Regions from separate parts of the Homo sapiens genome. Here region 2 is linked to region 1. The links are contacts of gene promoters, found by promoter capture Hi-C in blood cells and fetal thymus (Javierre and others, 2016). All regions are on one chromosome and are shown on one strand. The core of a region is centred on a gene start or on the middle of the fragment in contact, and the rest is flanking DNA. Distances in the headings are between cores, read along the strand shown.

Region 1 (4,000 bases), core at 1,079-3,578:
TGGTTTTGGTGATGACTTTTTAGATGCAACACCAAGGCACAATCCATGAAAGAAATAATTCATAAGCTGGACTTCTTTAAAATTTAACATTTCTGCTTTGTGAAAGATATTGTCAAGAGAATGAAAAGATAAGCCACAGACTGGGAGAAAATATTTACAAAAGACATATCAGACTTTGTATGTTATCCAAAACGTACAAAGAACTCTTAAAACTCAGAGATAAGAACACAAACCAAACAATTAGAAAATGGGCCAAAGACCTTAACAGACATCTCATCAAAGAAGATACAGAAGGTGACAAATAAGCATATCAGCTGATGCTCCACATCATATGTCCTCAAGGAAATGCAAATTAAAACAACAATGAGATACCAGTACACACTTATGAGAATGCCCAAAATCTGGAACACTGACAGCACCAAATGCTAAAGAAGGATGTGGAGCAACAGGAACTCTCATTCATTGATGGCAGGAACACAAAATAGTACAGCCACTTGGGAAGACAGTTTGGTGCTTTCTTAAAAAACTAAACATACTCTTACCATAGGATCCAGAAATCACACTCTTCGGGATTTACCCAAAAGAACTGAAAGCTTATGTCCACACAAAAACCTGCATACACATGTATATGAACACATTGCACAGTGGTGAAGTCCGGGCTTTTAATGCAGCCATCCTAAATAACACGCATTGTACCCACTAAGAAATGTCTCCTCCTTCACCCACCACCTGACCTCCTGCTCTTCACTGTCTCCAGTGTCTATGATTCTACTCTCTCTCTACCTCCATCTGTATGCATGATGTACCTCCCACTTACACATGAGGGTGCACAGTGTTTGACTTTCTTTTTCTGAGTAATTTCACTTAAGATAATAGCCTCCAGTTCCATCCATGTTGCTGCAAAAGTCATCATTTCATTCTTTTTATGGTTGAGTAGTATTCGTCTGTGTGTGTGTGTATGTGTGCGTTTGTGTGTGTGTTTGTGTGTGTGTGCGTGTGTGTGTGTGTGTGTATCTTTTGCCGCTAAAAGTAATATTGCCGTCATATGGGAAACTGGGAGAGGGAGAAACAGGTCCCCCTGGTTACATAAGAACTGACAGAGAAGGAAGTTGAAGAAAGATGATGGGTGGAGAAAATAGGTCCCACCTAGGGAGACATCACATCAGCTCTATGGAGCCCCAGAGTGCTTAAAGGGCTGGCACTAAATGAACCAGGACCTCTTGCGGCCTACAAGGAACATTGTAAGGGGGTAGCAGAAAAAGTCCATTTCAGTGATTCATCATCTCCTTTTCCTCACCATGCCCCAGGGACTCCTGTGCCTTCCCAACCCTCTTGCCCCTACCTGGTTCAGGCTTTCCACAGCAGGTTAGGGCACATTATAGCCAAGGGCACAACTCCCAACTCCTACACAGGCTGTTTTGCATAGGAGGAGGAAAAACACTGAAGACTTTCTGGGAAGTTAGTGCCATGGGGCAGGAAAGAACTTTTCCCACTCCCTACCTCCAGGCTCATTCCATGGGGCGGGGGGGGCGGGGGTCACTCCACCACTCAACCTAGATAGTGAGGCCCCTGACCCCAGTCCCCCCACCTAAATCCAGGGCTTCTGTGAGGGGCTGACCAATGGTTAGCAATGAAGTAATCCTGCTTCCCTCCCTGGACTTTGAGTTCCCATAGGGCAGACCCTGATGCAACCCAAGACCTATAGCACAGGGGATAAGAGTAAGGATTTGATTCAGGCTTTTCTTTGTTCGTGTGATGATTTGTTGTGTTTACTAGCTGAGTAAACTTGGGAACATCTCAACTTCTCCTTTCCTAAAATAGAGATTGCAGCACCTGCTTCTTAAGACTATGAGGGGAGGGTTGAGGAGGATGCAAGAGCAGCAGGTGTCTTGATGTCTAGACATTAAAACGCTCAGTAAGCGGTGGGGGTCATAGAACAGGCTGTCACAACAAATGTGTGGAAGTACTGGGGGAGGGAATAAACAAGACCATGCTGCCTTTGGGAGTCTGAAACTCCATTCTCTTTGGGTCCAGAGGCCCAGTGCTCTTTTCTCCCATTTCCTGACCTGTTACTACACATGTACCGCTGCCTTACCCTCAAATCAAGATTGAGCCAGAGAAGGCCCCAGGTGAGGTCTCTGGGGTGGGGTGGGACCTGGTGACCTGGGACCCTGGCCAGAAATCCTGAGCACAGCCTCCTGGGTGTGTCCCACACACCTGATATGGGACAAGCCTCCAAGAAACAGATGACAGAGGTGGCCCCAGGCCTCCCAACCCGTGGGAAGAGCCAGGCTGAGCCTTATAAAGGACTGCTCTTTGTCCAAACACACACATCTCACTCATCCTTCTACTCGTGACACTTCCCAGTTCTGGTAAGTCTCACCTGCCTCTTTGCATTTTCTAGAAGTGCCCAGTGCCCAGCCTGCCATGCTGCCTGTAGGAAGGGAAAGGGCTGTGGACAAAGTCTCAGAAGCCTGGGTCTAGGCCAGCTCTGCCATTAGCTGGGCTGTGTGACCTTCACTTGACCCCAAAAGCCCACGTCTGTACAACCAGGTGGCTGAACCAGACCTGTCCATTGCTCCTTTGGGATCTCCTGAGACAACTCCTGTGGAAATGTCCCCAGTGGGACCTGAGCACAGGACCCTCCCTTTCCTTCCTGTCTTCTTCCTCCCTGGATTCATTCTCCTTTTGGGATCCCAGTTGCTGAATCCCCTCCCCAGCTCTGCCCCCACAGAGGGAGGAGGGATAAGGATCCCCTGTGAATGCTTTGGAGGCTCTCCAAACCCCCAGGCCTTGGACCTGTAAATTCTCAGTCAATCTCTGGGCACAGGGCTTGGCCTCTGGCCTTGGCCTTGGCCTCAGATTCAGAAAGCTTTGAGTGGCTTCTCTTAGTCAGTTGCTGGCACGGAGCTTTCTCCTGCGTTGAGAGGTGTTGGGGGTTTATTGTCAGATGCCCACATGCGTTAGCCAAGGTCCTTTTCTGGTTCTTTGGAAAGTGTAGAAATGAGAGCTGCACTGTCTTATTTTTCAGGCTTGGGGTGCAGGGCAGCCCAGGCTGGCTACTGGCTGGAAGATCTGCTTTGGAAAGTCAGACATTTTTATTTAAACAGGGTCAACCCTTGGTGATTCAGAGGGTGCAGATATTTCCCAAGAGCAGACATGAAGCGACTCCCACCTCACTCCCACCCCATCCAGCAGCTTAAGAACCAGGGAGTTATTTCTGTTCCTTGTAACAGAGGCAATTCTTGTTTCTCATTCCCAAGGGAATGTAGGAAGGGCCCCCTGTCCTCGGGAGAGGGCTGTGTTTCCTGCTCACACTCATGTCCACGCTCACATGTGCACCTGGAGCCTGCACGCACTGTGTCATGCAGGGCTTGCACTTGAGTCAAGGTGGGGCCCACGGTGTCTGGTTCCTGAAGCAGCCGAGGAGGGTCAGACACCAGATCACCAAGGCCATTGTCCTGCCCCCGTGACTCTCACCCCGACTGTGAAGCTGGAGGAGATGGATTTGGTGCTGTTTCAAGAGTGGGGTCCGCCATGTGCTGGTTGAGGCTGGGGGGTCCCAGCTTAGTTCTTCTATGTGTTGCTGGCCTCCGACTCTCCCTGCTTCTCCTTCTCTGAAGCACTGTCCACAGCTGGACTTCTGCCATCCACCTGCATCTCTTCTTGGCCCTGGCCAGGATGGGCCGGGTCTCAGACTTGGTCCTACCCTCTCATTTTTGAACAACTTATCCCATCACATTTAAAAAAATCAAGTTCCTTCTGCTCCATCTTAGGGCTGTTTTTACTCTGTCCTCAGCCCTCCTTCTAACACCCCCACATAGAGACCTTAATTCAAACTAAGGTAAGAAATGATTGTCTTTATTTCCTGAAGGCTTTTTGAAAGCAAAGATGAGCAACACTCAAGCTGAGAGGTCCATAATAGGCATGATCGACATGTTTCACAAATACACCGGACGTGATGGCAAGATTGAGAAGCCAAGCCTGCTGACGATGATGA
Region 2 (4,000 bases), core at 409-2,908, 1.3 Mb before region 1:
TAGTAATGATTTTATGTCAAGATAACAGAGGTTCAACAAGTTGAAGATTGCAAGAACAAATTCATCAAAACTGATGATGCCATTACTGTCAATATTCAGAAGATTTGAATTTTTTTCCACAGCATGAAGGACACAGGGCTGCATGAAAACACAGTGAGAAATCAGCTTATTTATATGTGGTCCAGTGTCCTAAGTGTCTCCCAAGAATCCTATTTTTCTGACCTCATTCCTCAGTAACTGGTTAACTTTCCCAGAACAGCAAGAACTTATTGGTTCTGCAAGCCATTTTTCATCAGAGAGCTATGCCTGAGAAAGAGCATTTACAACACTTGTGAGTTGCATTTTGATGCATAATGGTTTATGACTCCTTTCAGAAGTCAGCTTTGCAGAAGCAATAATCCCAGTGACGAAAACCTCTTTTTCTCTAAGTAATTGCACAGAGTATGGAACTGAGACTGAAAATAGTTGTTCAAGAGACAGTGAGTGCTGAGAACTGTTAGCTAGGTGTAAAATGGATGGGGATCACATATGCTCATCTTGCTTGGATTATAAAGAAAGGGTGAGTTGGAAAGAATTTACACAGCTCTGTGAGAAGCTCACCTGAAAAAAGTCCCCAAACTCGCCCTGGATGAGTTGTTTCAGCTCTCTGCCAGTCAGTGTTGCCCCGTTACTGTCCTCACTGGCATATTTGTGGAATGTCTCAATTACACAGAGGACATTTCTCAGGAGCTGAGGCATCTTTACAAACTCAGGAGAGGCTGTGAGAAAGAATAAACAAAGCTCATTTTCCAGGATGGGTCCTTCAGGGAGGAGATACCAAGATTATCCTTTTTGTTCCTCCCCCATCTCCACTGCAACCCCTGCTCTATTCTGTATCTTAAAATATTATATCTGAACTCCAGGGGTGATTTAGTATTGTACCAGACATTGTGGTGAAATCAGACCCAGCATAGGTAAGTATTAGAAGAGACAATTCACCCCACTCTTCAGTAAACAGCAACATTCATGTGCTCAGAGAAAGCTTCATTGCAAAAGGAAGGTGATAAGAGAACTCAAGCATAAGGATTGAAATGCATAAATGAAGCCAATAGAGTTGGACCCATTCTTCCAGCCTCATCCAAGAGTGTCTATCTGCTCTCCTCTCCCTTTGGCTCAGTCTAGCCTCCTGCGGTTAGGAGGGTATAACCTTTAAAGTTAGCAAAGCTTCTAGTGGAAAGATAAGTCACACCAAGAAAATTAACCCCTATGTTTGCAGGTGGTAACAACATGCTTTAACCAAGAAGACATGATTCCATGTCCCGACCCCTTATTCATTCATTTCCCATCCTTTAAATGCTTCTACATTTTCATTGCAATAGAGATCTGATCCTGTGCCTTGTTGAATAATATTCATGCCTATGACTTCTAAACAATTTATGTTTTTTTTAAAAAGAAAATGATCAAAGAAGTTCCATAATCAAGGAATGCATTTGGGTGGTTGGCGCTCCCAGTTTATTATTATTAATAGGGGTTGACATAGACTTAAAGTGTGTTTCCTTTGAAATCCTCTTGCAATCTCACATATAAGCAAAACAGCAACTGAAATCCCAAGTATGCTCAAGCAGATGGACTTACCTAGTTCACAAGCGAGAGCAGGTAGAACGTGGGGCAGCGGGCTGTGAGCTGACAGCAGGAGCTGGAACCTTTTATTGAGGTCCTAATTGCACAGTTAAGAAGGAGACACCCTCTGGGTCTAATGACCTGACATCACCACCAAATCCAGTCTCCCCTGCTCTGTTGTCAGTTGTCTTAATTTTATTTCCTTCTTTAGGCAGTTTCAATTAAATCTTAGCTTCAGATGCATCAAAAGAAAGGGGAGGGGGTTTCTTGATTCATTTACTGACTTTTGCAGATTATAGTTTTGAAGGCTCTTCAAGGTAGTGTTGGCTTCCCTCCCCCATTTTTTAACCTAAGGACATAATTACATTTCTGTCTGACAAATCATAGTGCTGGCAGGGACCTCATAAGTCATCTGATTCCTCTGTCTGCCCACAAGATGGCCCGTATTTGACCCAAACCTGAGAGATGGGTGTCAATCATGTGTTTAAAAATAAAGGCCCCCATTTAGCCATGTGACAAAAGTGGAGATACCAGTTGATTCAGATGTTTCAATGCTTTGCTCTCCTTGCCCAGAGGCAGAGTTAGAAAAAAAAAAAAATTCTTGCTTGGTGTGCAAAGCCTTGCTTACCTATGTTGTGCTATTTTAAAAACGTGATTGATATTTGCTTTCTAAAGACATTTTTACTATACAAGGAGCTTGAAACCAATAATCTATATTACTGTGTTCTCCCTGTAAAGGGGAAAGGGAGATGTTGAAATCATCAAGCTGAGAACAGAAGTGAGTCTGAGATGCTGAACTGGCAAACATTTTAATTGTCTCCTAGATCTGGGTCCTTCTTAGTAGAGAATATTTAATAAAATAAGAATTAGATTCAATGGTTTTCTTAGATATTTTTAAAAAATAGAGTATGTTTTAAAACACTCCTTGTCAAAGGATGGAAGAAATAGACAGATCAATGCAAACAAATATAAAAGACACAGACCAAGTTAAAGATGGGGTGGGAATGGGGGTAATTATATGAGAAAGCTGAAGCTAAGGGATGCATTGCTATTGAGCAAAAACCTTATTCTGAATTTCCTGATTATCGAGGAACATACAAGGGAACTAAATTTTGGGGAAAAACATTCATACTGATACTTTACACCTACAAACAATTTCTCAGCATCCTCCCAAAGGGAGAAGACTTCTGGGAATTGGAATTGGCATGTGAAGGTCATCTTAGTTCTGATTAGTTAATATCCCCAGAGTACCAGCTATTTCTCAACACTATGCCAGGAACTGGAGTGTTTAGAGTTGAGTAAGTTATATCTTCCTGCTCTGGAGCTCATGGGCCAGTCTCATGAAGAACTGGGTATATTCAAGGCTGGATTGGAAAGAAACACTTATGGGAGACATAATAACTGTCTTCAAATACTTGAAGGATTTTTATGGGTGTGGAAGAGAAAAGAATTAATGTTTATTGAAAACTTATGACATGTCAGGAGCTTTACATGGGCTATCTTAATCCTCACAGCCCTTTTAGGTAGTTATTATCCTCTTTTAACAGATAAGGAAGTTAAGGCTGTTAAGCAATTTGCCTACAGATATGTACCTTTACTAGGTAATGGCAGAGTCAGGATTCAGAAATGAAAGGTTTCAAGAAAGTATGTCTCTGGGCCAGGCGTGGTGGCTCACGCCTGTAATCCCAGCACTTTGCGAGGCTGAGGCGGGTGGATCACCTTAGGTCAGGAGTTCTAGATCAGCCTGGCTAACACGGTGAAACCCCATCTCTACTAAAAATACAAAAATTAGCTGGGCATGGTGTCACATACCTGTAATCCCAGCTACTCGGGAGGCTGAGGCAGGAGAATTGCTTGAACCCGGGAGGCAGAGGTTGCAGTGAGCCGAGATCATGCCACTGCACTCCAGCCTGGGTGACAGAGCAAGACTCTGTCTCAAAAAAAAAAAAAAAAAGAAAGTATGTCTCTGAAGTCATAGTGTTTTCATTACCTTGAGTTTCTTATTTGTGTAATGCCCGGTAATACAGCTGGAATCAATGCTTAAAACTTTCTAAAAAGCAGACTCCAGCTCTTAAGAACTTTCTAAGGAGCAGAGTTGTCTGACAATGACTTGGGCCACTACTAGAGCAATGAACTGTTCCTATACAGGCTGAATCATGATCTGTTGGCTAGGTTTTGGGAGAAGTCTTGCCATGGGAAGACGTAAGAGAGGAGTGGCTTACAGTGAATGGTACAGAACTCTTTCAACTTTAAATGTCTATAGTTTTATGTTATTGTTTCTATTTAGAAAGTTAGAGTTGGATCTTGCCTTGTCTCTAAACAGTGGCTCTGTAACTCTTTTATAGGCATTCCTGCTTTTTTAGTGCTTACTCAAGACCATTTAATTAATATCCATACTCTG

What was found. The method cuts DNA at HindIII sites, captures the fragments that hold promoters and counts their contacts. A CHiCAGO score of 5 or more calls a contact.
Region 2: the fragment with the promoter of TCHHL1 here is called in contact with the fragment with the promoter of S100A7A in region 1 in 1 of 17 cell types (M0 macrophages); the score reaches 5.1 in M0 macrophages.

The regions. Positions count from the first base shown.
Region 1 is chr1:153,414,192-153,418,191 of GRCh38, forward strand. It overlaps S100A7A (S100 calcium binding protein A7A), which reads left to right and starts at 2,329. Exons shown (of 3, transcript NM_176823.4): 1 at 2,329-2,372; 2 at 3,875-4,000. The coding sequence starts at 3,892. It also overlaps a transcript of S100A8 not described here. The HindIII fragment of the contact is 2,279 bases long and covers 592-2,870 here.
Region 2 is chr1:152,087,406-152,091,405 of GRCh38, forward strand. It overlaps TCHHL1 (trichohyalin like 1), which reads right to left and starts at 1,659. Exons shown (of 3, transcript NM_001008536.2): 1 at 1,615-1,659; 2 at 601-758; 3 at 1-138. The coding sequence starts at 738. The HindIII fragment of the contact is 6,885 bases long and covers 1,202-4,000 here.